Linked DNA regions of Homo sapiens: regions 2, 3, 4, 5, 6 and 7 are each linked to region 1. The links are contacts of gene promoters, found by promoter capture Hi-C in blood cells and fetal thymus (Javierre and others, 2016). All regions are on one chromosome and are shown on one strand. The core of a region is centred on a gene start or on the middle of the fragment in contact, and the rest is flanking DNA. Distances in the headings are between cores, read along the strand shown.

What was found. The method cuts DNA at HindIII sites, captures the fragments that hold promoters and counts their contacts. A CHiCAGO score of 5 or more calls a contact.
Region 2: a fragment that was not itself captured here is called in contact with the fragment with the promoter of TMEM248 in region 1 in 5 of 17 cell types (fetal thymus, naive CD4 T cells, megakaryocytes and 2 more); the score reaches 8.4 in fetal thymus.
Region 3: a fragment that was not itself captured here is called in contact with the fragment with the promoter of TMEM248 in region 1 in 1 of 17 cell types (M0 macrophages); the score reaches 5.3 in M0 macrophages.
Region 4: a contact is called between a fragment that was not itself captured here and the fragment with the promoter of TMEM248 in region 1, in 4 of 17 cell types (total B cells, monocytes, total CD8 T cells and 1 more). The highest score is 7.9, in total B cells.
Region 5: a fragment that was not itself captured here is called in contact with the fragment with the promoter of TMEM248 in region 1 in 1 of 17 cell types (total CD4 T cells); the score reaches 5.3 in total CD4 T cells.
Region 6: a fragment that was not itself captured here is called in contact with the fragment with the promoter of TMEM248 in region 1 in 1 of 17 cell types (total CD8 T cells); the score reaches 5.7 in total CD8 T cells.
Region 7: the fragment with the promoter of TPST1 here is called in contact with the fragment with the promoter of TMEM248 in region 1 in 13 of 17 cell types (total B cells, fetal thymus, naive CD4 T cells and 10 more); the score reaches 17.9 in total B cells.

The regions. Positions count from the first base shown.
Region 1 is chr7:66,919,297-66,923,133 of GRCh38, forward strand. It overlaps TMEM248 (transmembrane protein 248), which reads left to right and starts at 1,929. Exons shown (of 7, transcript NM_017994.5): 1 at 1,929-2,165. RefSeq lists a silencer at 1,971-2,220. The HindIII fragment of the contact is 775 bases long and covers 1,842-2,616 here.
Region 2 is chr7:66,026,882-66,030,718 of GRCh38, forward strand. The region is part of intron 3 of LOC105375336 (a long non-coding RNA gene); the gene reads right to left. It also overlaps the pseudogene LOC100419772. Among named protein-coding and RNA genes, the nearest start is that of GUSB, 47 kb to the left of the region's middle. The HindIII fragment of the contact is 4,637 bases long and covers 1-3,837 here.
Region 3 is chr7:66,051,789-66,055,625 of GRCh38, forward strand. No RefSeq gene overlaps it. Among named protein-coding and RNA genes, the nearest start is that of ASL, 22 kb to the right of the region's middle. RefSeq lists a silencer at 33-211 and an enhancer at 3,753-3,837. The HindIII fragment of the contact is 1,584 bases long and covers 1,138-2,721 here.
Region 4 is chr7:66,071,797-66,075,633 of GRCh38, forward strand. No RefSeq gene overlaps it. Among named protein-coding and RNA genes, the nearest start is that of ASL, 2.1 kb to the right of the region's middle. RefSeq lists a silencer at 3,664-3,837. The HindIII fragment of the contact is 4,170 bases long and covers 87-3,837 here.
Region 5 is chr7:66,107,145-66,110,981 of GRCh38, forward strand. No RefSeq gene overlaps it. Among named protein-coding and RNA genes, the nearest start is that of CRCP, 5.8 kb to the right of the region's middle. The HindIII fragment of the contact is 2,827 bases long and covers 284-3,110 here.
Region 6 is chr7:66,125,522-66,129,358 of GRCh38, forward strand. It overlaps CRCP (CGRP receptor component), which reads left to right. Exons shown (of 6, transcript NM_014478.5): 2 at 2,183-2,219. Among named protein-coding and RNA genes, the nearest start is that of CRCP, 13 kb to the left of the region's middle. The HindIII fragment of the contact is 2,078 bases long and covers 631-2,708 here.
Region 7 is chr7:66,203,189-66,207,025 of GRCh38, forward strand. TPST1 (tyrosylprotein sulfotransferase 1) reads left to right here and starts at 2,146. Exons shown (of 6, transcript NM_003596.4): 1 at 2,146-2,334. RefSeq lists silencers at 1,769-2,038, 2,189-2,548. The HindIII fragment of the contact is 8,515 bases long and covers 1-3,837 here.

The DNA.
Region 1 (3,837 bases), core at 679-3,178:
TTTTTGAAATCCCATACAAGGCAGCTAGGATGAAAGGTTTGAGGTTGCCTTTTTTACATTCTCCTACGGTCTCAATCACTAAGTCATATATGGTGCCATTGGTGGTGGGGCTCCTTTAATTACATTATCAGTCCTAGCCTGGTAAGGGACATCTCATTAGGAAGTTTGGTTCCATCATTATATACACAATTCAATACTGCCTGCACTTGCAGATAATGTCACACCCATTACAACAAGGAAGATAATTCAAATGGTGCAAGATAACAAAAGAGGGCAAGAATCATGGAAATAAGAGGGTATTCAGTGAAGGAACTGAGCCATTGTGTTGAACATTACAGGCTTCACCTGATAAACTTTTGTTAAAGATGGCTGGGTGTGGTGGCTCATGCCTGTAATCCCAGCACTTTGGGAGGTGGAAGTGAGCGGATCACTTGAGCCCAGGAGTTTGAGACCAGCCTGAGCAATTTGGGGGAAACCCCATTTCTGTGAAAAATATGAAAATTAGCTGGGCACGATGGTGCACATCTGTGGTCCCAGCTACTCAGGAGGCTGAGACAGGAGGATCACTTCAGCTTGGGAGGCCGAGTCTGCAGTGAGCCATGATCATGCGACTGCACTCCAGCTTGGGTGACAGAGCAAGACCTTGTCTCAAAAGCAAGAACAACAAAACTTTATTACCTTTAAAGCACCCTGTACTCCTCCCCCATCCCATTCCCCTAACACTTAACATGAAGTTTATACATCTTTTTCTCATGCTTCATGTCAGTTCAAACAATTATGTATGCATCTCTAAACAATATGTTATGAACTTGCCTGTTTTGAATTTTACATAATGGAAATATGTAGCAGTGTACCATTTTGTGATTTGGTCCCTGCCAATATAGTCTGCAATTGACTACCATAATTGTGTGAGCTGTATTAAATAATTTTCACTGGTCTTTTGTACCCGATTAAACACGAAGATGGGCCAGGCGTGGCAGCTCACACCTGTAATCCCAGATCCTCCCGAGGTGGGAGGATCACTTGGGTCCAGTAGTTCGAGACCAGCTTGAGTAACATAGGGAGACCCTGTCTCTACAAAAACAAACCAAACCATGAATATATCAAAGTTGGTTTTTACATTTGACTGTATGGACATCTGCTTTTTCTCCCCAATTTTTAGTGAGTCATACTGCTGCTAAAAACATTGGTGTTGCTATGAGCATTATTTTGTCTACTTGTGCATAGGTGCAACTGTTTCTCCAGGGTAATATATTCTCAAGAGAGGATGTGTATATCTTTAAGTGTACTGCATAATGCCAAATTACTTTGCAAAGTGATTGTACAAAATTATACTTTAAAAATTTTCATTTTCATTTTATTTTATTTATAAATAGAGTCAGAGACTCCCTATGTTACCCAGGCTGGTCTGGAACTCCAGGACTCAAGCGATCCTCCTGCCTTGGCCTCCCAAAGTGCTGAGATTACAGGCCTGAGCCACCGCGCCTGGTCCAAAATTACATGTTTATCAGCAGTGATTAATATACAAGCACATCAACAGACACACGCATAGCACACACATGAGCATGCACACGTGTGCGCACTCCCTACACATCTACGCATGCACACACCCATACCATCACACACCACACACGCGCACACAGATGCACATACATGCACTCACTGCACACACCGTTGTACACGATGCACACTACAAGCCACATACACGCACTACGCACACACGCACACGCACAACACCAGACCGGCACACAGACCCATAAACGTCCATCACGCACTCCACGCACGTCCGCATGCACGCTACCCGTCCCGGAAGCGTGGTCTCCGCCGCCTGCCTCTGACGAAGCTTGTCCCGGCCGCGCCACCGTCGGACGCCCGGGGTCGGAGGTCACGGCGGCGTTGGAGGTGGCGTGGTTTTTTTTTTTTTTTTCACCCGGAAACCGCGGTTGCCGGAGCCCGAACTGAGGCGGCGGCGGGAGCCCGGTTGGCGTCTGGTCTTCGCGTCGGCCCCGCGGAGCCAGACGCTGCCCCCGGCGCGGGGAGAAGATGGTGCCTAGCGGCCTCGGGCCCGCCACGCGCCGCCACGAGTGAGCCCAGCGCGACCGCGGGCGTCCGCCGAGCAGCTGGCCCGGCTGGGCCCGGGGCGCGCAGCTGCCCGCCGGGGCGGGGTGAGCCGGGGCTGGAGGGCGGGCTGGGGTCGGGCCCAGTCGGGGCTGCCCGCGGGGCCGGGAGCGGGGAGCGTGCTGGTCGGGAGCGGCTCCTCCGCCGGCTTTTTTCACCGCTTCTCAGGGTGCAGACCCCGCCCCAACTGCTGGCGGGGGTCGCCCAGCATCGGCCGACCTCGGCCTGGTCCCCCCACACTGGGGTTTGCCCACTCGCGTCCCCCGAGCCAGGGTTCCCTGCCGGCCTTGGAGATGGCGGGACTTCCCACGTCTGGAGCCGAGGCCTGGATAATTCGGATTTGGCACGGGAAACATCTTGGTCGTTTGCCATTTTTCGGCTTTGGGGAGTGTTTGCGTTTCTTCTCCGTTTGGCAGTGAAACACATCTCAGAAAGGTGGGAGGGAGAGACTCACGTACGTCCACAAAGTTAAATGGCATAGTGGTGTTCCCTGTGTCAAGCTTGGTAAATATCCGGAATGGGGTGGATTCTTTCTTCATGTTTTTAATAAAATGAGGAGTGATCGCAAGGTAATCTAGAGGCATGTAGTTTCAGTTCCCTTGATGGGGACCATCAGAAATAAAACCAGGCTTGTTGTGCTGTTTTGAGTCGTTTGAACGCCGTACCCATCGGACAGCTGGTGAGGAGGCCTTTGTGGAAGAATCTGATGTCTGAGTTTAGTTCTCAACTAGCAGGTGACAGCCCTCACTGGCTGATGAATGGTGAGCTTCTCTGAAGCCTGCTTTGTAAAGATTGTGGCTTCCGCCTGAACTGCTTCTTTCCTGCCTCAAAGGTGAGCCGCTACGGGAGGGAATGGGAAGAAAAACTCCGAGACTGCTGATGAATATGTGATAAAGTGGTTTGTCTCGATAGCACCATCAGCTTGGGTCAGCTTAGGGTCTCAGCATGTGTATCTCATTTGTAGATGAGTGTTCCATCAGCGCTTGACCGATAAGGGTGTCCATCTACTTCCTCTTTTCATCTAGGGATTCTGACAGGAAATAGACCTGTCGCGCACCTAAGGTATACTTAGGTGTGCATTGACCCTAAGTGCATTTACTCTCTAGGATTAAGGATTTGGAGTTTCAACTTGTAGTGAAGATTCTGGGAGAATTCCTGTGGCCTGAATCAGGTGGACTGGAATCACTGCTAGCACCGGAGTCTCAATGCTAAAATCACCAAAGGCTAGTTAACTGGCACCTTCTCCGTTTAGGCTCTAGCTGCATCTGTGGCAAGGAGGAAAGGTAGATTATATATATATATGTTTTTGAGACAGAGTCTCACTCTTGTCGCCCAGGCTGGAGTGCAGTGGTGCGATCTCTGCTCACTGCAACCTCTGCCTCCCAGGTCCAAGCAATCCTCCTGCCTCAGCCTCCCTAGTAGCTGGGATTACAGGTGCCCGCCACCATGCCCAGCTAATTTTTGTATTTTTAGTAGAGACAAGGTTTCACCATGTTGGCCAGGCTGGTCTTGAACTCCTGACCTCAGGTGATCCATCCTCCTCGGCCTCCCAAAGTTCTGGAATTATAGGCGTGAACCACCCGCACCTGGCATAAGTGCGAATATATTAATAGTTTCTGCCTGTAAGGAATGTACTTAGAGGAAGCAATAGGCTAGAAAATGTGGCAGGACTGAATTGCCATAGTGGTATACCAACTGTTCAGGATTTTGTTATGGTTA
Region 2 (3,837 bases), core at 579-3,078, 890 kb before region 1:
CCCTGAGATATCAGGACACGAGAAGGGGAGATCACCTCTGTGGTACTCTTCCTCAAAAGCCACAGGTTCTGTGTAATCATAAGAAAACGTCAGACAATCACAAATCAAGGGACGTTCTACAAAATACTTGACCAGCCCTTCACAAGTGTCAAGGAAGACAAAGGAAGAGTAAGGACACAGAACAAATGACATTATGGGAACATGTTAACTAAATATAAAATGGTATCCTGAGCCAGGTGCGGTGGCTCACACCTGTAATCCCAGCACTTTGGGAGGCCGAGGCAGGTGGATCACAAGGTCAGGAGATTGAGGCCATCCTGGCTAACACGGTGAAACCCCGTCTCTACTAAAAATACAAAAAATTAGCCAGGTGTGGTGGCGGGCGCCTGTAGTCCCAGCTACTATCGGGAGGCTGAGGCAGGAGAATGGCGTGAACCTGGGAGGCGGAGCTTGCAGTGAGCCGAGATCATGACACTGCACTCCAGCCTGGGCGACAGAGCGAGAGAGACTCCCTCTCAAAAAAAAAAAAAAAAAAAAAAAAAAAAAAATGGTATCCTGAACTGAATCCTGGAACTCAGAAAACAGCAGTGGGAAAACAAGGTATTCAAATAAAATTTTAGCTTAGTTTAATAGTATGTACCAATGTTAATTTCTTGGTTTTTCATGGTATAGACCATGGTTATGTAAGATGTTAACATCGGAGAAAACTATGGGAAGGGTACACAAGAACTCCCAGCACCTGTCTCTACAACTTTTATGTAAGAGAAAAATGGCTGGGCGCAGTGGCTCACACCTATAATTCGAGCACTTTGGGAGCCCAAGATCGGCGGATCACCTGAGGTTGGGAGTTCGATACCAGCCTGACTAACATGGAGAAACCCCATCTCTACTAAAAATACAAAATTAGTCAGGCGAGGTGGCGCATGCCTGTAATCCCAGCTACTCAGGAGTCTGAGGCGGGACAATCACTTAAACCTGGTAGGCGGAGGTTGTGGTGAGCCAAGATCGTGCTATTGCACTCCAGCCTGGGCAACAAGAGGGAGACTCCATCTCCAAAAAAAAAAAAGAAAAATGATTTCAAAATAAAAGGTGTTTTTTTAAAATTGATTTGCAATGGTCTGATATTTTCTCATGATTACACAGAATTTGTGGCTTTTGAAGAAGAATACAGATATAATTTGAGAGGAATTATAATTACATATTTTGGGAAGAATCTGAAACTTGAAAAATAAACAATAGCCTTAAGTGTCTAAGTCCCCAGCACTTTGGAAAGATGCGGTGAGAAGATCCCTTGAGCCCAGGGATTCAAGACCACCCTGGACAACAACAAAAAAATTAGCCAGGCATGGCAGTGCATACCCATATTCCCAGCTACTTGGGAAGCTGAGCTCGGAGCACCACTTGAGCCTGGGAGGTTGAGGCTGCAGTGAGCAGTGATTCCCTTTCAAGGAGAAGTGAGAGCAATCTTTTAGACTATTCCTTCTAACTTTGTAGCTGGCTAAACACTACACTTGACCAAACTCCTCCCACTTTTATAAACAGAATAAAAATCAGGTTACAGTAAAAGTATTCAAATCAGATAAAAGGCGATCTTGATTTCAGCAGCCAGTCGTTGGGAGAATAAACCCCCCTCCCTCAATGGTACTTTAGGTAGGCCTGGCAGAAGCCCAGCCTTACTTCATAGGTGATAGTGTTCAAGTTCTGTTGCCCAGAGCTGTGTTTATTCTTTCCACTTTCTTTACGCTGCTCTTTCAGATCAGTTAGTAAATGAAACACCCAGGAGAAGATACACAAAAGAAGTTTATGAATAAATTTGAGAAATATATCTATCTAAGGTCAGTGGTTTTGAAGGATAAACAGGAAACTGTAGTACTTCCTTTCACCCGCCCATTACGCAGCTTCCAATTCTTGGATTTGAGCAAATATGAGTCCCAGAGGCATATGACATTAAAAAAATGCTCTTTTATATAAGCCAAATAATCCAAATTCATTAATTTACCTAAAATATTTCAAATATGGCCAGGTGCGGTGCCTCATGCCTGTAATCCCAGCACTTTGGGAGGCTGAGGCGGGCGGATCATGAGGTCAGGAGATCAAGACCATCCTGGCTAAAATGGTGAAACCTCATCTCTACTAAAAATACAAAAAATTAGCCAGGCGTGGTGGCAGGCACCTGTAGTCCCAGCTACTCTTGAGGCTGAGGCAAGAGAATGGCGTGAACCTGGGAGGCAGAGGTTGCAGGTTGCTGAGATCACGCCACTGCACTCCAGCCTGGGCAACAGAGCAAGACTCCATCTCAAAAAAAAAAAAACAATTTCAAACATTTCCTATGAATATACACATCACTAATCTCCTCTGATCTCAAAAATATACTATTTGAAAGCAAATTTTCTTAAAACAAATATTTTGTTAAAAAAGAATTCTGCTTCTCTAGTATAAAAATCTAACATAGGCCAGGTGCAGTGGTGCACACCTTTAATCCCAGCACTTTGGGAGGCCAAGGCAGGCGGATCACGAGGTCAGGAGATCGACACCATCCTGGCTAACACGGTGAAACCCCATCTCTACTAAAAATACAAAAAAAATTAGCCGGGCGTGGTGGCGGGCGCCTGTAGTCCCAGCTACCCGGGAGGCTGAGGCAGAAGAATGGCATGAGCCCGGGAGGTGGAGCTTGCAGTGAGGCGAGATCATGCCACTGCACTCCAGCCTGGGCGACAGAGTGAGACTCAATCTCAAAAAAAAAAAAAAAAAAAAAATCTAACATAATAATTTCTTTCTGGAAAAGAAAAATTTTGAAGCAAGTGATAAGACAGAGTTTACCAAAAAAAGGGGAGGAAAAAATGCTATGGATTTTTAGAAGCAAACTTTCCCCACAAGGATAAAACATGCATGCATTAGAGTGCTGGAGGCAGGGGGGAATCTCAGTCTCATTCCTGTTTTAGAGATTCTACCACAGAAGTGAAGAAAATGCAGGCTCACACACCATCACTAAATACAATGCGACCCCTCTCATCTGCTGTTCCTTTCAGAAATAGTGGCATGAGATCAATGAATGCAATGTTTCCCCAATGGATAAAACACCCAAACGCCTAGCAAAGTCCAAACTGGACAAGGAGGCTCCTAAAAGCCAAAGGCTTGGCCAAAAACCATTCAACCATTTCCTTCCTGTTCTAAGCTGCAACCACTTGAGACTGAGCCTTTAGAGAGGAAAGAATATGGCCAACTCTGTTTATTCTACTACCTTCTTTTCTTTTGGGGGGATGTGGAAGGGAGGCGGTTTCTTTCTTTTTGCTGTCTTCCACTCTGGGAGCTTTTTTTAGGGGACAGGGTCCCAAAGGCTGTCTCCCAGGCTAGAGTACAGTGGTCATCACTGTAACCTCAAACTCCTGGGCTGAAGCAAACCTCCCCTCTGCCTTCCAAGTAGCTAGGACCATAGTAGGTGTTTGCTACCATGCCCAGCTAATTTATTTTTTTAAGAGCTGGGGGTCTTGCTAGGTTTCCCAGGCTGATCTCTAACTCATAGCCTCAAGCAGTCTTCTCTCCTTGGCCTTCCAAAGTGCTGAGATTACAGGCATGAGCCACAGCACTTAAGCTACTACCTTCTAGACCTCCTCTGAGTCTTCCTGAGTTTAGACTCTAGCACATGGAAAATTCACAGTCAAGGTATAAATGGTTCTTTCTACACCTGGAGTGAGCCTATCAGATGGTTTTGCTAGTGCCAAATAGGAGGCAAAAATGCTGGAATATCTTCCGTCTTACCAATCTTTTTCCTTCTTTTCCTTTCCCTGGGAACCCCACCCTAGGCCCCAAAAATTATAAATTTGTTAATTTCTACTA
Region 3 (3,837 bases), core at 680-3,179, 870 kb before region 1:
CTGGGAGGTGGAGGCTGCAGTGAGCTGAGATCATGCCACTGCACTCCAGCCTGGGTGACAGAGCAAGACTCCATCTCAAAAAAAAAAAAAAAAAAAAAAAAAATTACAGTGGCTCACGCCTGTAATCACAGCACTTTGGGAGGCCAAAGTGGGCGGATCACCTGAGGTCAGGAGTTCGACACCAGCCTTGCTAACATGGTGAAACCCCCGTTTTACTAAAAATACAGAAAATTAGCAGGGCATGGTGGCTTATGCCTATAATCCCAGCTACTCGGGAGGCTGAGGCAGGAGAATCACTTGAACCCAGAAGGTGGAGGTTGCAGTGAGCTGAAATTGTGCCACTGCATTCCAGCTTGGGCAACAAGAGTGAACCTCCATCTCAAAAAAAAAAAAAGTGCTTATTAATAAATCCCGGCCGGACACAGTGGCTCACACCTGTAATCCCAGCACTTTGGGAGCCCAGGGCGAGCAGATCACCAGAGGTCAGGAGTTTGAGACCAACCTGGCCAACATGGTGAAACCCCATCTCTGCTAAAAATACAAAAAATAGTCAGGTGTGGTGGTGGTTTCCTGTAATCCCAGCTACTTGGGAGGCTGAGGCAGGAGAATCACTTGAACCTGGGAGGTGGAGGTTGCAGTGACCCGAGACTGTGCTTCTGCACTCCAGCCTGGGTGACAGAGCAACACTATGTCTCAAAACAAAACAAAAACAAAACAAAACAAAAACCCTTTATATTTTAGTCTAGTATAATTTCTGTAGCACAGGGATTAAGAAAACAAGTCCTGGCCAGGTGGGTGGCTCACACGTGTAATCCCAGCACTGTGGGAGGCCAGGGCGGGCAGGTCACCTGAGGTCAGGAGTTCAAGACCAGCCTGGCCAACATGGTGACATCCCGTGTCTACCAAAAATACAAACATTAGCTGGGCGTGGGGGTAGGAGTCTGTAATCCCAGCTACACAGGAAGCTGAGGTACGAAAATTCCTTGAACCTGGGAAACAGAGGCTGCAGTGAGTTGAGATCACACCACTGCACTCCAGCCTGGGTGACAGAGCGAAACTCTGTCTCCAAAAAAAGAAAAAAAAAGAAAAGAAAAAAGAAATAAATAAACAAAAAGAAATTGACACTTTCGGTCATAAAGCTTGAAACTTACATTTTATTTTACCTGAGTTCCTTCCTCAGGAAAGGATCCCCAGGCCTCTCAAAGTTTATCAAAGAACTGAAACTCACCAGGTCATGGCATCCTGACAATGAGACTCCGGACCCCTCATTCATCATGATTGCTTCCTTACCCCTCCTGAGTTCCTGTATTCCCACACATAGTTGCATTTCTTCCCTGCTGTATAAACCCCTAATTTTAGTAGTCAGGGAGATGGATTTGAGACTGATCTCCCATCTCCTCAGCTGCAGCACCCAATTAAAATCTTCCTTGGCAATAATCACTGTCTCAATGATTGGCTTTCTGTGCGGCCAACAGCTGGAGCTAGGCTGAACTCTACTGCTTTGGTAACACTAAAAGAATGAAATGTGATCATACACACACAGTGGTTCTAAAACATGTCTGCTAATTTCTTTTTTTTGAGACGGAGTCTCTCTCTGTCACCCAGGCTGGAGTGCAGTGGTGTGATCTTGGCTCGCCACAACCTCCACCTCTTGGGGTTGAAGCGATTCTCCTGCCTCAGTCTCCCGACTGGCTGGGATTACAGGCGCCCACCACCAAGCCCAGCTAATTTTTGTATTTTTAGTAGAGACAGGGGTTTCACCATGTTGCTCAGGCTGGTCTCAAACTCCTGACCTTGTGATCCGCCCACCTTGGCCTCCTAAAGTGCTGGGATTACAGGCGTGAGCCATCGCGCCCAGCCCATGTCTGCAAATTCTCTGACACCCCTCATGGAGTGGAGTCTAATTCCTCCTCACCTTGAACATGGTCTGGCTTTCGTGACTCACTTCCTTTTCTTTTGAGACAGTATCTCACTCTGTTTCCCAGGCTGGAGTTCAGTGGTGCAATCACAGCTCACTGCAGCCTCAACCTCCTGGGCTCTGGTGATCCTCCCACCTTAGCCTCCTGAGTAGCTGGGACCATAGGTGCTCACCACCACACCCAGCTGATTTTTATTTTATTTATTTATTTATTTATTTATTTGTTTATTTATTTATTGTTTTTTGAGACAGAGTAATGCTCTTGTTGTCCAGGCTGGAGGGCAATGGCGCGGTCTGAGCTCCCTGCAACCTCTGCCTTTCGGGTTCAAGAAATTCTCCTGTCTCAGGGTCCCAAGTAGCTGGAATAACAGGTGCCTACGACTACTCCCAGCTAATTTTTGTATTTTTTAGTAGAGATGATGTTTCACCATGTTGGCCAGACTGGTCTTGAACTCCTGACCTCAGGCAACCTGCCCACCTCCGCCTTCTAAAGTGCTGGGATTACAGGTGTGAGCCACCACATCCAGCCCTGACTCACTTCTAAGGAGTAGAATGCAGTGGAAGAGACCTGCATGACGGCTGAGGCTGCATCAGAAAAGTTGATGCAGCTCCCACGTGGCTCTCTCTGGGAATATGGGCCGTTGAAGCACAGAGCCAGGCTATAAGAAGCCCAGCTGCCTCCAAGCCACCATGCTGGAGGGATTGCATAAAGAGACCACACGGTTATACTGTGAGATGTCCTCTGTTCCAGCCCTCAGCCATTCGAGTCTTCCCTGCCTAAATACAAGACATGTGACTGATGAAGCTTTTGAAATGACTCCACATGGTGGTGCGCGCCTGTAATCCCAGCTACTCGGGGGGCTAAGGCAGAATTGCTTGAACCCAGGAGGCAGAAGTTGTAGTGAGCCATGATCAAGCCACTGCACTCCAGCCTGGGCAACAGAGCAAGACTCCATCTTGAAAAATAAAAATGAAAATGAAATGACCCCAGCCTCAGCCAGTACTGTAACCATAGGAGGAACCCTAGGCAAGACCTCATCCTATGTAATTCAACACCCTGAATTATCAGAGGTAATAATTCTGACAGTTGTTGTTTAACAATCTGGAATGTCTCCTTACACAGCAAAAGACAACAGATAGACACATATAGTACTTTGCACATAAAAAACATTGAAAACATAGCAGTCCTGGCCAGGCACGGTGGCTCACTTCTGTAATCCCGGCACTTTGGGAGGGCGAGGCGGTGGGATCACCTGAGGTCAGGAGTTCGAGACCAGCCTAGCCACCATGGTGAAGCCCCGTCTCTACTAAAAATAAAAAAATTAGCCAGGTGTAGTGGTGTACACTGGTGTAATCCCAGCTACTCAGGAGGCTGAGGGTAGAGAATTGCTTGAACCTGGGAGATGGAGGTTTCAATAAGCCAAGATTGTGCCACTGCACTCCAGCCTGGGCAACAGACTGAGACTCCATCTCGAAAACAAAAACATAGCAGTCCTAACTGTTATTATTTCAAACCAGTTTTATCTTGACCCACTAGGACCTTATGTATTAATCATAGCAACTATTATTTATTGAACACTTAGTATAAAACAGACATAGCACATATGCGCACACATTGTTATACTGCTCTTTGATTTATTGTGCTTCACAGAAACTGCATTTTTTACAAATTGAAGGTTTGTGGCAACCCTGTGTTGAGTAAGTCTGTCAGTGGCATTTTTCCAACAGCACGTGCTCACATCATACCTCTGTGTCACAGTTCGGTAATTCTTACAATATTTCAAGCTTTTTCATTATTACTATGTCTGCTGTGGTGATCTGTGACCAGTGGTCTTTGATGTTACTACTACAGTTGTTTTGGGCATCATACACTGTGCCCATTTAAGATGGTGAATTTAATCAACCAATGTGCGTGTTCT
Region 4 (3,837 bases), core at 922-3,421, 850 kb before region 1:
TGCCCAGCTTGCCTTCCTGTCTTTCTCCTCTTCCTGAGTCTCTTCCCCATCCCTACAGCATGGCCTTCACGTATGCCAAGCTTGCAAGCTTGCTGTTTGTTGCAAACAAACCTGGACTGACAATCTCTCTTCTGTCTTGTGGACAGCCAGACTGACTGTCCTCTTCTACCTGGGTGCCTGTGTACATGTCCTCTAACCCCTAACCCTAACCCTTTGCAGCTTCTGTTTCTTTTCTTTTCTTTTTCTTTTTTTTTTTTTTTGAGATGGAGTTTCACTCTTGCTGCCCAGGCTAGAGTGCAATGGCACGATTTCGGCTCACCGCAACCTCCGCCTCCCGATTCAAGCGATCTCCTGCCTCAGCCTCCCGAGTAGCTAGGATTACAGGCATGCACCACTATGCCCAGCTAATTTTGTACTTTTAGTAGAGATGGGCTTTCTCTATGTTGGTCAGGCTGGTCTCAAACTCCCGACCTCAGGTGATCTGCCTGCCTCGGCCTCCCAAAGTGTTGAGATTACAGGTGTGAGCCACGGATCCCAGCCAGCTTCTCTTTCTTTATCTATAAATAGAACTGTCGTGAAGATGCAATGAGATGAATTTTAGCTCAGAGCCTGCCACCTGGTGACTTACCCATGTTAGGTATTGTGGTTACAGCTCTGCTGTCAAACCACTTCTCCAACTCTCTTTCTAGCCTCAGTTCATTTGTCAAAGGGTTTGGCCCCAGTATTTTGCTGGATATTCAGAAGTACGACCTCACGTCTGCAGAATGCCACTGACTTTCACACGAGGCCTCCCAGGAAGGGATGCCAGGCCTCAGACACTAGCTGTTGGATCTCGGGACTTGCCACTCCACTTTGGCATTTTTCAGGACCACACGGCATACAGTTGATCTAACAGTCTTTCCTGTCCTCCCAGTGGTCAGCTGCAGCCCAGTTCTAGGGCTTCTGTGGGAGAAGACAGGAGAGGGCTGGGAGTCAGGGCACACAGATGTGTCAGATGAGGCTTTGCTTGCAAGGAGCTCACCACTTGGGTGGTGGAGAAGGCCCAGAAGGCACTACTACAGTGCTCCCAAATCAGGAAAAGATTGCTAAATGCCCGTATACTCAGGATCACATGGGAGCCCAGAGTTGGATGCCTGGATCAGCTGGGAGTCTACCTGACATTGATGATGTTTGGCTAGAATACTGATGGACAAGGCCAGGCGCGGTGGCTCACGCCTGTAATCCCAGCACTTTCAGAGGCCAAGGCGGGTGGATCACGAGGTCAGGAGATTGAGACCATCCTGGCTAACACGATGAAACCCCATCTCTACTGAAAATACAAAAAATTAGCTGGGCGTGGTGGTGGGCGCCTGTAGTCCCAGCTACTCAGGAGGCTGAGGCAGGAGAATGGCGTGAACCCAGGAGGTGGAGCTTGCATTGAGCCGAGATTGTGCCACTGCACTCCAGCCTGGGGGACAGAGCGAGACTCCGTCTCAAAAAAAAAAAAAATACTGATGGACGAATGGGAGGTGGCAAGACCGACACTGAGGGAAGGGCATCCCAGGCACAGGGAAGAGCATTTAGGAAGGCTTGAAACAGTCAGGTGCATTCTGGGAACTCCAAGTAATTCCACTCTTGAGTTGAGTGAGGGCTAAACACCTTCAAATCACAAAACATTCCAGCCACTGGTCTCTTCTTCTCCCTCCATTCCATCCTCAATACTATAGCTAGATTTATCTTCCTTCCTTCCTTTCTTTCTTTTTTAACATGGGGTTTCAGCCGGGCGCAGTGGCTCACCCCTGTATCCCAGCACTTTGGGAGGCTGAGGCGGGCAGATCACCTGAGGTCAGGAGTTCAAGAACAGCCTGGCCAACATGGAGAGACCCCATCTCTACTAAAAATATAAAATTAGCCAGGCGTGGTGGTGCATGCCTGTAACCCCAGCTACTTGGAAGGCTGAGGCAGGAGAATCGCTTGAACCTGGGAGGCAGAGGTTGCAGTGAGCTGGGACCGTGCCATTGCACTCTAGCCTGGGCAATAAGAGCGAAACTCCATCTCAAAAAAATAAATAAAAATAAAATAAAATAAAATAAATTTGGCTCCTCTGATTTTAAAATCGATCGGGGTTTCCTATGACCTATAGGACCAAGAACAAACTCCCTCTCTTGACATTGAAGACTCTTCACAGCCTTCTCCCAAACTCCTTCCACCTCTCCTCCCTACCTTTTGTTATAGTTACAGCCACTTGGATGATTTCCTGTTCTTAAAGCAGGCCAGTCACATTTTTTGTCCAGACTTCTCCCTCTGCCTGGAATGTTCTCCCCTTCTTCCCTGGGCAAATTCCCCCCATCTTCCAAGACCCAATGCAGAAGACAGGTTCATTAGAAGCCCCTTCAGGGTACTTCCAGTGCCTAGAATCCAGCCTGACATTTTGGTTGAATAATTAATTAATCAGATCAAGGACCTCTTCCCTGAGTACCCAACATAGCCCCCCTCCCCAACGCCTGTGCTCCCTGCACACCTCCTCCATGCTATGTTGGAACTTCTTGAAGTCAGGCTTCATTTCTTTTGTTTCGTTTCTTTCTTTGTTTTCTCTTCTCTTTTTCTTTTTCTTTCTTTCTTTCTTTTTTTTTTTTTTTTTTCGAGACAAGAGTCTCACTGTCGCCCAGGCTGCAGTGCAGTGGTGCCGTCTCAGCTCACTGCAGCCTCCACCTCCCTGGTTCAAGTGATTCTCCTGCCTCAGCTGTCGGAGTAGCTGGGACTACAGGCACCCACCACCACACCCGGCTAATAGAGACAAGGTTTCACCATGTCAGCCAGGCTCATCTCGAATTCCTGACCTCAGGTGATCCGCCCGCCTCAGCCTCTCAAAGTGCTGGGATTAAAGGCGTAAGCCACTGTGCCCGGCTGCGTTTCTTTTTTCTTTTCTTTTCTTTCTTTCTTTCTTTCTTTCTTTTTTTTTTTTTTTTTTTTTTTGAGACAGAATCTTGCTCTGTCACCCAGGCTGGAGTGCAATGGCACCATCTCAGCTCACTGCAATCTCCGCCTCCCGGGTTCAAGAGATTCTCCTGCCTCAGCCTCCGGAGTCGCTGGGATTGCAGGCACCCGCCACCGTGCCCGGCTAATTTTTGTATTCTTAGTAGAGACGGGGTTTCACCACCTTGGCCAGGCTGGTCTCAAACTCCTGACCTCGTGATCCACCCGCCTCGGCCTTCCAAAGTGCTGGGATTACAGGCGTGAGCCACCGCGCCCGGCCTCCGGCCGCGTTTCTTTTCTTTTTTAGAGGAGTCAGGCTGGAGTGCCGTGGCACAATAGCTCACTGCAGCTTCGAACTCCTGGGCTCAAGTGCTCCTCCCGCCTCAGCCTCCTGAGTAGCTAGGACTGCAGGCGTGCACCACCACGCCCGGCTTTTTTTTTATTATTATTAATTTTTTTGTAGAGACGGGATCTTGTTGTATTGCCCAGGCTGGTCTCCAACTCGTAGCCTCAAGCGATCCTCCCACCTCGGCCTCCCAAAGTGCTGGGATTACAGCTGTGAGCCACCGCGCCTGGCACAGGCTTCATTTCTGATGGTCCTTCCTTTTTCCTTGATGCCTTTCTCTGTACCTGGCACATAGAGGTGCCTGGTACGTGTTTGTTGAATGAATGAATGAATGAGTGAATGAGCGAACATGCCATTTCACCTTATATATCTTGTGAACCTGCCAGGCCCGGGCCTGATGTCATAGCCTCTACCCCTGGCCCGAGTCTCCAGTCCCCTGCGTGTCTGCTGACCACAGCACGAACGCCAGCGCACTACCCTCCTCAACCCCAGCCCAGGCCCCTTCCCCGTCGGGGTCCCCCCAACCCTTTCCCCGC
Region 5 (3,837 bases), core at 447-2,946, 810 kb before region 1:
CGGGGTTTCACTGTGTTAGCCAGGATGGTCTCTGTCTCCTGACCTCGTGATCCTTTCACCTTGGCTTCCCAAAGTGCTGGGATTAGAGGCATATGCCACCAAACCCGGCCTTCATTTTTATTTTTATTGTTCGAGATGGAGTCTTGCTCTGTCACCCAGGCTGGAGTGCAGTGGTTTGATCCTGGTCACAGCAACCTCCGCCTCCTGGGTTCAAGCAACTCTCCCTCAGCCTCCCAAGCAGCTGGGATTACAGGCATGCACCACCATGTGGGATCATTTCAAAAGCTTCCTCAGTCACACGTCTTGTATTTAGACTGGGAAGACTCGAATGGCTGAGGGCTGGGACAGACAGGACATCTCACAGTATAACTGTGTGATCTCTCCATGTAATCCCTCCAGCATGGTGGTGTGGAGGCAGCTGGGCTTCTTATAGGCTGGCTTCATGCTCCAAAGGCCCATAGCCCCAGAGAGAGCCAGGTGGGAGCTGCATTACCTTTTCTGACGCAGCCTCAGCAGTCATGCAGTCTCTTTGACCACATTCTACCTCTTAGAAGTGAGTCAGGGCCAGACGTGGTGGCTCATGCCTATAATCCCAGCACTTTGGGAGGCTGAGGTGGGCAGATCACCTGAGTGAGGTCAGGAGTTCAAGAGCAGCCTGGCTAACATGGTGAAACCTCATCTCTACTAAAAATACAAAAATTAGCTGGGTGTGGTGGCACATGCCTGCAATCCTAGCTACTCGGGAGGCTGAGGTAGGAGAATCGCTTGAACCCGGGAGGCAGAGGCTGCAGTGAGCCAAGATCGCGCCATTGCACTCCAGCCTGGAAAACAGAGGGAGGCTCTGTCTCAAAAAAAAAAAACAGAATTAGAAGAAGTAAGTTGGCCAGGCACAGTAACTCTCACATATAATCCCAGCACTTTGGGAGGCTGAAATCGGAGAATCATTTGAGCCTAGGAGTTCGAAACCAGCCTGGGCAATGGTGGTGAAACTCCATCTTTACAAAAAAATACAAAAATCTACCGAGAGCAGTGACTCACACCTGTAATCCCAGCACTTTGGAAGGCCGAGGTGGGCGGGTCGCCTGAGGTCAGGAGTTTGAGACCAGCCTGGCCAACATGGTGAAACATCATCTCTACAAAAAAATACAAAAATTAGCTGGGCGTGGTGGCAGGCACCTGTAATTCCAGCTACTTGGGACCCTGAGACAGGAGAATTGCTTGAACCCAGGAGGCAGAGGTTGCAGGGAGCTCAGACCGCGCCATTGCCCTCCAGCCTGGGCAACAGGAGTGCTACTCCATCTCAAAAAAAAAAAAAAAAAAAATCAGCTGGGTGTGGTGGTGAGCACCTATGGTCCCAGCTACTCAGGAGGCTAAGGTGGGAGGATCGCCAGAGCCCAGGAGGTCAAGGCTGCAGTGAGCCGTGATTGCGCCACTGCACTCCAGCCTGGGATACACAGTGAGATCCTGTCTCAAAAGAAAAGGAAGTAAGTCAGGAAGGCTAGACCATGTTCAAGGTGGGGAGGAGTTAGACTCCACTCCATGAGGGGTGTCAGAGAATTTGCAGACATGGGCTGGGCATGGTGGCTCACACCTGTAATCCCAGCACTTTGTGAGGCCAAGGCAGGCAGATCACAAGGTCAGGAGTTCGTGACCCGCCTGAACAACACAGTGAAACCCCCATCTCTACTAAAAATACAAAAATTAGCTGGGCAGGGTGGCAGGCACCTGAAATCCCAGATATTCAGGAGGCTGAGGCAGGAAAATTGCTTGAAACTGGGAGGCGGAAGTTGTGATGAGCCAAGATCATGCCACTGCACTCTTGCACTCCAGCCTGGGTGACAGAGCGAGACTCTGTCTCAAAAATAAAATAAAGAAATAAAGTAATAATAATAATAAGTGTGTAGCTCCTCCCCTCGTCTCTTGGTCCTGCTCCCCTTCACCTTTGTCATGAGTAGAAGATCCCTGAGTCCTCCCCAGAAGAAGATGCTGCCTTTCTTCCTCTAGAGCCTGTGGAACTGTAAGCTGATTAAACCACCTTTTTTTTTTTTTTTTTTTTTTTTTTTTGAGACAGTCTTGCTCTGTCGCCCAGGCTGGAGTACAGTGGCAGAATCTCGGCTCACTGCAAGCTCCACCTCCTGGGTTCACACCTTTCTCCTGCCTCAGCCTCCCAAGTAGCTGGGACTACAGGCACCCACCACCACGCCTGGCTAATTTTTTGTATTTTTTAGTAGAGACAGGTTTTCACTGACAGGATGGTCTTGATCTCCTGACCTCGTGATCCTCCCACCTTGGCCTCCAAAAGTGCTGGGATTATAGGCGTGAGCCGCCACGCCCAGCCAAACCACCTTTCTTTATAAATTATCTAGTCTCAGGTATTTCTTTTTTCTTTTTTAGTCTCAGGTATTCCTTTTTTTTTTTTTTTAAGACAGAGTCTTGCTGTGTTGCCCAGGCTGGAGTGCAGTGGTGCAATCTCAGCTCACTGCAAACTCTGCCTCCTGGGTGAAGAGATTCTCCTGCCTCAGCCTCCCCAGTAGCTGGGATTACAGGTGTGCGCCACCACGCCCAGCTAATTTTTTTTGTATTTTTTAGTAGAGACGGGGTTTCACCATGTTGGCCAGGCTGGTCTTAAACGCCTGACCTCATGATCTGCCTGCCTCAGCCTCCCAAAGTGCTGGGATTACAGACATGAGCCACCATGCCCGGCCTTCAGGTATTTCTTTATAGAAGTGTGAGAATGGAGTAATACAGAAGTCCTAAATCAGTCTCACTGGGTTAAAATCAAGGTGTTGGTAGGGCTGCAGTCCTTTTTTTTTGAGTCAGAGTCTCGCTCTGTTGCCCAGCCTGGAGTGCACGATCTTGGCTCACTGCAACCTACCCCTCCTGGGTTCAAGCAATTCTCCTACCTCAGCCTCCCAAGTTGCTGGGATTACAGGCGCCTGCCACCACACCCAGCTAATTTTTTAAATTTTTAGTAGAGACAGTGTTTCACCATGTTGGCTAGGCTGATCTCAAACTCCTGACCTCAAGTAATCCGCCTGCCTTGGGCTCCCAAAGTGATGGGATTACCGGTGTGAGCCGTGGCACCCAGCTGGGCTGCAGTCCTTTCTGGAAGCTTCACAGGAGAATCTGTTTTCTTGCCTTTTCCAGCTTCTACAGTTACCTACATTCCTTGGCTCATGGCCCCTTCCTCCATCTTCAAAGGCAGGAATATTGCATCTCTCAGATCATTCTTCCCTTCCCTAGCCACACCTCCCTTGGGCTCTGACATCAGGTGAGAATGATTTTATGCTTTTAATGATCCATGTGATTATGTTGATACCACATAGAAAATCCAGGATAATCTTTTCTTCTTAAGGTCCATACCCTTAATTGTCATGGTGATCAGCGACTATCCAGGACCAGAGGTGCAGACAGTAAAAAGAATGTTTACTCGGCTCACTGCAACCTCCGCTTCCCGGGCTCAAGTGGTTCTCCTACCTCAGTCTCCTGAGTAGCTGGGATTACAGGCGCCTGCCACCATGCCCGGCTAATTTTTGTATTTTCAGTAGAGATGAGGTTTCACCATGTTGGCCAGGCTGGTCTTGAACTCTTGGACTCAAGTGATCCACCCGCCTTGGCCTCCCGAAATGATGGGATGACAGGCATGAGCCACCGCACCTGGCCTACCGGGTATCATTCGAACACCCAGCTAACTCCCTACTCTAAGTCACACCTGAGCCATTTTATCATGGGGGCTGTCAGAGGCACTGCTGTTTTTCACTGAAGCCCATACCCAATCCCTCGGCCTCGTGTGCTTTTCCCTCACCCACTTCAAAGGCCCGTGGCTTTGGGACGCCT
Region 6 (3,837 bases), core at 420-2,919, 790 kb before region 1:
CACAGAGTACCTGTGTAAACATCAATTGGTTCTCTTGATCCCAAAACACAGATTCATTAAAACTTATGTGAAAGAGGGTTTTCCTCCTTTATATTCGTTCTAGAAGAGGCAGAGGGTGTTCTTTGGATTCTTGCATTACACTATTGACTTGTTTAGTGGGGTAGTAACTTGGAATGGCCAAGGACAAATTTCCCACGACGTGGAATATTCTGAATGACAGAGAAGGGGCCATTATTTGGAAATAAAGTTGTAACAGTGCACCTGCGATGGATCCATTGGCCCTGAAGAGAAAAAACATTCATATTTTTTCTCGAGTCAAGTATTCCAGGAAGGGATGTTTTAATGCCTCATATTTTGGAGAGCACAGGGAGTTATAACTCAATTTCAAGCAAAGATAGGAGGAAGCCAGTGGGCAGATTTCCTGATTAAGCAGGCAAAGATGACATGTGGTTTGATTTGTCATTTTCAATTTTAAATGAACTCTGTCACATGCACTAATTATGCATTGTCCTTCCTGTGTTAGATTCCTTTCAAATATGATACTCTTTGTGACTTCAGTGTGTTTGTGGTCATTTGGGCAAAGCAGCACTTTTGTGAAATCGTAGCTTGAATCACTGGTAGCATTTGGTAAGCTTCACAGAGCTGATTTGATTATAGTGCTGACATCACTGTGCTGATGACCTAAGGCCGAGGTCTATCTCTTTGTGAACCACTGTTAGTTTTGCTTTATTTATTGACTCGGAAGTCACCTATCTGGCCCATGCTTTTGAAGTCTTGGGTCATCATTTGGATCATCTCGCCACACTCCTGGTTTAAGAACATACAGAGGTCTCTGTTGCACATTACAAATCAAGTGCAGACCCCTCTACCTGATTTTTAAGGATTCTGCATGACCAGTTTCCATTCATCCAGTTCAGTCTCATTTCCCACAGTTCCATAGTTACCTTCCACTTTATTTAGACTTCTTACTGTGTGACCTTGAGCAAGTTACTTAATTTCTGAGTCTTGTGCTTTATCTCTGCAGAGTAGGAATCATACGAATAGCTCCTACATCACAGGGTTTTCAGTGAGAATTAACTGGGATAATATCTTTTACAAATAATAGCCTTCCATTATGGAGATGTTAATACAAGTACCAAGAACTATTCTAAACTTTTAAAATTTGTTGTCTCATTTTATCATAACAGTTTGATGAGGTAGGAGTTGCTGGTGGTAGTGGTAGTTGCCCAGATAGTAGTAGTGATAATGTTGGTGCTTATTGAGCACTTACTATGTTCCAAGTACTTTACATGTTTCCAGTGAACCCTGTGAACAGTCTTACAAGGTTGATACTATAGTTGCCGTTTCATAGATAGGAAATGTAAGCATAATGAGATTAAGTAACTTGCCTAGATTCACATGGCCAAAGAATTCAGGAGCTGGATTTAGAATCCAGGCCATACTTTTAGATACTAGTTTCATCCCATTTTTATTTTAGAAGGAAAACTTAAGGAGTAATTAACTTAACTAAAATTCTCACAGCACATAAGTGGCAGAGCTAGAACATGAACCCAAATCTGATTTCAAAACTATGTTCTTTGTCATACTCCACTGCCTCCAGACTGCTGAAAACAATGCTTTCTGATATGCTATTGTAGAGTGGATCGATTGTGATTTAATATATGTCACATCGTTGTGTTTCTTCACTCAGGAAAGATGGCATATTGCCTGGATTAACTGTTACACAGGGAACCAGGCTTTTGGCCACTGCTTGCCACCCTGACTGTACCTGTTGAGTTGACGTAGGTGGTGAACACCCTGGGAGCATGGCAGATATTTGGCAGGATACTTGCCCATGGCTGGAATTCCCAGTGGTGACATTGGTGTTAAGTGGGCCATTTCTGTTGATTCAGCAGGAGGACGTGGCAGCCCAAGATGTCAATAGCTGATGGGAGGCAGATAGTAATGGGGAGAGGACATGGCTGTGGGATGGGACAGCACTTTGTTCCCAAGTCTACTCTGAAATTGCCCACAGCTAGCTAAACCATGTTGGACTTAGGACATTTCTCAGTTTCAATTTTAGGTTGTAGTCCCTAAATTCAAAAAGTGGACTACTGTATCTTGACAGGAATTCTTTTACAGAATTTGATACCCAGAAAGGGGTGTGAGCCCAGACTGATGATAGCTTACTTTTCTTTTTCAGGAAGGATGCCAATTCTGCGCTTCTCAGTAACTACGAGGTAAATTGGATTGTTACATTTTCCTCTCTGATAGTTTGCCCTTCGCTCCTGAGATTGTTAAATTGATTTTGGTTAGAAATGACTGAATTCAGGCTGGGTGCAGTGGTTCACGCCTGTAATCCCAGCACTTTGGGAGGCTGAGGCTGGATCACTTGAGGTCAGGAGTTCAAAACTAGCCTGGCCAACATGGTGAAACCCAGTCTCTACTAAAAAATACAAAAATTAGCTGGGTGTGGTGGCACATGCCTGTAGTCCCAGCTACTTCGGATCCCAGCTGAGGCAGGAGGGTCACTTGAACCCAGGAGGCGGAGGTTGCAGTGAACTAAGATGTGCCACTGCACTCCAGCCTGGGCAATAGACCAAGGCTCTGTCTCAAAAAAAAAAAAAAGAAAGAAAGAAAGAAAAAGAAAAAAGAAATGACTGAATTTATTTGGATTTTCCACTTTAAAATAAGACATGGCAACATCTGGTGGACCTTGGAATAGTGTAAGCTTGACACGTTATACATAGTACTTCAGGAAAGCTGGGAAGACTCTATTTTAGAGGGGGCAACCTTCTCTAAATCTCAACGATTCCAAATCATCATTTGGGATGTAGTCATAGGATAGAAGCATCTATTTTAAGGCTGTTTCTGTCTGCAGAATTTCCCATTAAAATTTTTATGATTTTTCCTAATTATCACCTTTGATATATTTATATATTTATAATGCTTTTATACATTGCAAATAGTCTTATGGGTATTAACATCCTTATTTTGAAAGTGAGTTTAAGCCGAGCACAGTGGCTCATGCCCATAATCCCAGCACTTTGGAAGGCCAAGGCCAGCGGATCACGAGGTCAGGAGATTGAGACCATCCTGGCCAACATGGTGAAACCCCATCCCTACTTAAAAAATAAAAAAAGAGAGTGAGTTTAGTTGACTCACCTTTCTGAATAGTAGAAATTAAGAAATGTAGAATTTTTTGGGCTTAGGGTGGGATTGCTGGAGAAAGGAAAAGAAGGAAAAAGGTTGGTAAGAGAGGAGATATTCCAGCATTTTTGCCTCCTATTTGGCACTAGCAAAACCATCTGATAGGCTCACTCCAGGTGTAGAAAGAACCATTTATACCTTGACTGTGAATTTTCCATGTGCTAGAGTCTAAACTCAGAAAGACTCAGGAGGTCTAGAAGGTAGTAGGTTAAGTGCAGTGTCTCACGCCTGTAATCTCAGCACTTGGGAAGGCCAAGGAGAGAAGATTGCTTGAGGCTATGAGTTAGAGCTCAGCCTGGGAAACCTAGCAAGACCCCCAGCTCTTAAAAAAATAAATTAGCGGCCGGGCGCGGTGTCTCACGCCTGTAATCCCAGTACTTTGGGAGGCCGAGGCGGGCGGATCACGAGGTCAGGAGATCAAGAACATCCTGGCTAACACGGTGAAACCCCGTCTCTACTAAAAATACAAAAAATTAGCCGGGCAAGGTGGCGGGCGCCTGTAATCCCAGCTGCTCGGGAGGCTCAGGCAGGAGAATGGCGTGAACCCGGGGGGTGGAGCCTGCAGTGAGCCAAGATTGTGCCACTGCACTCCAGCCTGGGCGACAGCGAGACTCCGTCTCAAAAAAAATAAAAATAAATAAATTAGCT
Region 7 (3,837 bases), core at 896-3,395, 720 kb before region 1:
ACACACATATACACACAAACACACACACACACACACATATATATAATTATTATTTTTTTTTTTGGGTGAGAGGCAAGGTCTCAGTCTGTCACCCAGGCTGGAGTGCAGTGGTGCCATCATGGCTCACTGCAGCCTAGAACTCCTGGGCTCACGGGACCCTCCTGCCTGGGTTTCCCAAACTGCTGGGATTACAGGCGTGAGCCACCACACCCAGTCAGCTGATTATCTGTAGAAGGAGATATCATATGTACCTTAGACAGTTGCTGTAAAGATCAAATGAGGTCCACACAAAAACTTCTTTTTTTTTTTTTTTTTGAGACGGAGTCTCACTCTGTTGCCCAGGCTGGAGTGCAGTGGCACAATCTTGGCTCACTGCAACCTCCACCTCCCGGGTTCACGCCATTCTCCTGCCTCTGCCTCCCGAGTAGCTGGGACTACAGGCGCCAGCCACCATGCCTGGCTAAATTTTTGTATTTTTAGTAGAGACGGGGTTTCACCGTGTTAACCAGGATGGTCTCGATCTCCTGACCTTGTGATCCGCCCACCTCGGCCTCTCAAACTGCTGGGATTACAGGCGTGAGCCACTGCACCCGGCCACACACAAAAACTTCTACACAAATGTTCATAGCAGCATCATGTATAATAGCCAAAAAAGTAGAAACAGATGTCCATCAATGGATTAATGGATAAATAAAAGATGATGTCCAGCCAGGCACGGTGGCCCATGCCTGTAATCCCAGCACTTTGGGAGGCCAAGGCAGGCAGATCACTTGAGGCCAGGAGTTCAAGATCAGCCTGGGCAACTTGATGAAACCCCGTCTCTACTAAAAATATAAAAATTAGCCAGGCATGGTGGCACATGCATGTAATTCTAGCTACTTTGGAGGCGGAGGCATGAGAATCACTTGAGCCCAGGAGGTGGAGGTTGCAGTGAGCCAAGATCACATAACTCCACTCCAGCCTGGGAGACAGAGTGAGACTCTTCAAAAAAAAAAAAGGTGATGTCTGTATAATGGACTATTATTCGGCCGTAACAAGGAATGAAGTGCCGATACATGCTACAACATGGATGAACTTTGAAAATATTATACTGTGTGCAAAGGAAGGTAGTTACCTTCCCGGGTTCAAGCAATTCTCCTGCCACAGCCTCCCCAGTAGCTGGGACGACAGGCGTCCGCCACCATGCCCGGCTAATTTTTGTATTTTTAGCAGGGACGGGGTTTCACTATGTTGGCCAGGCTGGTCTCGAACTCCTGACCTCAGGTGATTCACCAGCTTTGGCTTCCCAAAGTGCTGTGATTAGAGGCATGAGCCACCCCACCTGGCCTAGCAGAGAGCAATTTTGAATACAGCTGTTAGATTCTGCACTCATGCCTTCTCTAATCCATGTCACTGGAGTAGAAATAATTGCTTTGACAGAACCTGGTGTAGATGTGTCTGTAGGAAGAAACTGTAAAATGAATGGATCATTTTGTGAAATATCTGCCCTTTCCCCACCTTTCTTTTGCTTCTTTGCCTTTTTCTCCCTAGTTTTCATTTCTTTCTTTTAGGGCGTCAGCCCCCCACCTCTGTGGTTGGGAGGGACTATTGCACGTCTACACTCTCGTGGGGATGAAATAGTGTTTGAGTTCGTTATTTGCATTTGCGCGTTATCTCCCCGAGGAGATGACAGCTTCTCTGCCAGCAGCGGGCAAAGGTGGGCTCTGAAGCAGAGGAGAGGAATTATCAGGAAAAGCTCATTTTCTTCTCCTGTCCTAGGGTTTCACTGATGAAGGCCTCTGGGACACCCACGTTGGGGGTGGGGGCGGTGAGGACCGCCACCTGCCCGCGGCTCCCCTGCAGCCAGGCCACGCGCGCTGTTGCTAGGGCAACCACCCGGCCAGGCCTGCGGCTGCCGGGAAGCCCCCTCGGGAGCGCGCACGGGAAGGGCTGTGGGGGCGCTGGCCGGCTGCGACGTCAGACCCCCGCCCCTCGGCGCCTGCCGGACCCAGCTCCATTCCCAGCCGCGCCTCCTTCGGTGGGCAGCCGGCCGGAACTCACGAATCAGAGCAGCCGACACATCGTCCGCTCAGCCAATCGTAGCAGATGTGTGATCCCGCCACCTCCCCGGACCCTGGCGGTTGTCGCTGAGTTGGCGACCGCGGGAGACGCTGCTGAGGCGGCTTCGGTTGCGGGTCGGAACGGCGCTGCTCTGCGGGGCCGGTCCAGGCTGGCAGCTGCCGGCGCTTGGCGGTGAGGGCGGGCTCCCGAGTGGCCCCCCACCGAAGGCGGTGGGACCAGCGGCTGAGGCCAGGATGCCGTCCAGGCGGCGCGGCGGCTCCTCACTCATCCCAGGTAAGGGGGACGCGGCGCTCGCTGCGGCTCCGCTCCCCTCTCGTCTCCTCACACCCGGCCCTGTGCCCCGTCCTGGCATCCCTTGGCCCCTTGTCGCCTTCTGCTCGGTGCCTCCCGGTTGTCCAACCCCGCCCCCGAGCGCGGAGCCCCGGGTCTGGCCCGTCCGGCCCCTGCTCCCACGCCCCTTCCCCCATCGCCGGCATTTCCCGGGCTCGGCTTCGCCCCGGCCGCCGGGGCCTCTCCCCTCTGCCCTTTCTCTCCCTTCTCGCAGCCCTGGGACCACGTCCTAGCCCCGCAGTCCCCTGGGATGAGACCCTCGTCTCGCCGGGATCGGACATTTGCCCCCACGTCTACCCCGGCTGCGCTTCTTGAGCTCATCGCCCCATCATCCTACCCGTTGTACGTAGTCCTGTCTGCATGGCAGTCGCCCGCCCCGCTCCAGGTGTCCCTGGGTCTTGCCCTTTTGCTCCTAAGCACCTTCCTTTCCCAACTCGCCTCTTCTCCCCTCACTTTGACCACCCACCATCGCAATCTCCTCTTCCTTCTCTTACTCTTAAACCTCCAGACACTTTCCCACTCTCTGCAATGCCGGATTCATCGCTTTTTTTTTTTTTTTTTTTGAGAGATGGAGTCTCTATGTTGCCCAGGCTGGCTTCGAACTCCTGACCTCAAGCTATCCTTCTGCCTCGGCCTCCAAAGTGCTGGGATTACAGGCGTGAGCCACTGCGCCTGGCTCAGATCCATAGTGTAATATCTTCATTCGTCCTTACATGAGCTGCACCCCATAACATGTAAAGTCCCTTGCCCAGAGTCTAGCACACAGTAGGCCTGGCACATGGTGGGTGGTCACGCATGTTAGCCTCTTCCTCCTTCCAGGCGTTTTGTACTTTCCAGATGATGGTAGCAAGAAGTCCAGTGTCCACAGGGATTTGACTCTGCCTGAAGAATGGTATGGGAGATGGCAGGAGAAATTGGTGAACTCCAGTAAAGCGATTAAATGGTCAATTACTGCATTCATTAAGAAGAAACAATTCTGCTATCCGTGCCATGTATTGTTTTATGTTAATTGCCTTTGTAAAGGATTCTTAGGCTGCTAGTCAGCAGGCTTTGCGGTGTAATTACTCCCCATCCCCTCTCCATCCCCATCTGCAGTGTTTGGGTAACTTTCTTTTTAGGAAAGAAAGAGCCCCTACCTCCCAGCTAAAGTGGCATAGTATATAAGCAATGTGGTACGTGTTTATCTATTAGCTGGATAGTCCAGGGAGCTGCAATGAATTTTCATCTTTTAAGATCCAGGAGGAATCAGGATTTGGATTTCCTGGAATCAGCTGCTGTACAGACCAAATATGCTTAAGAATGAAACTTCTGACAAGTCCTCTAAGAGTGAGAGAGGAATTATCCACCCCTCTCCCTCCCCCTCTCCAAACACTCGCTCTTGGAGGAAATAGCGAGTCGATTTTTAAAAAAGAGTAAAATACGTTTGACTTTTTAAAATGATAAAAG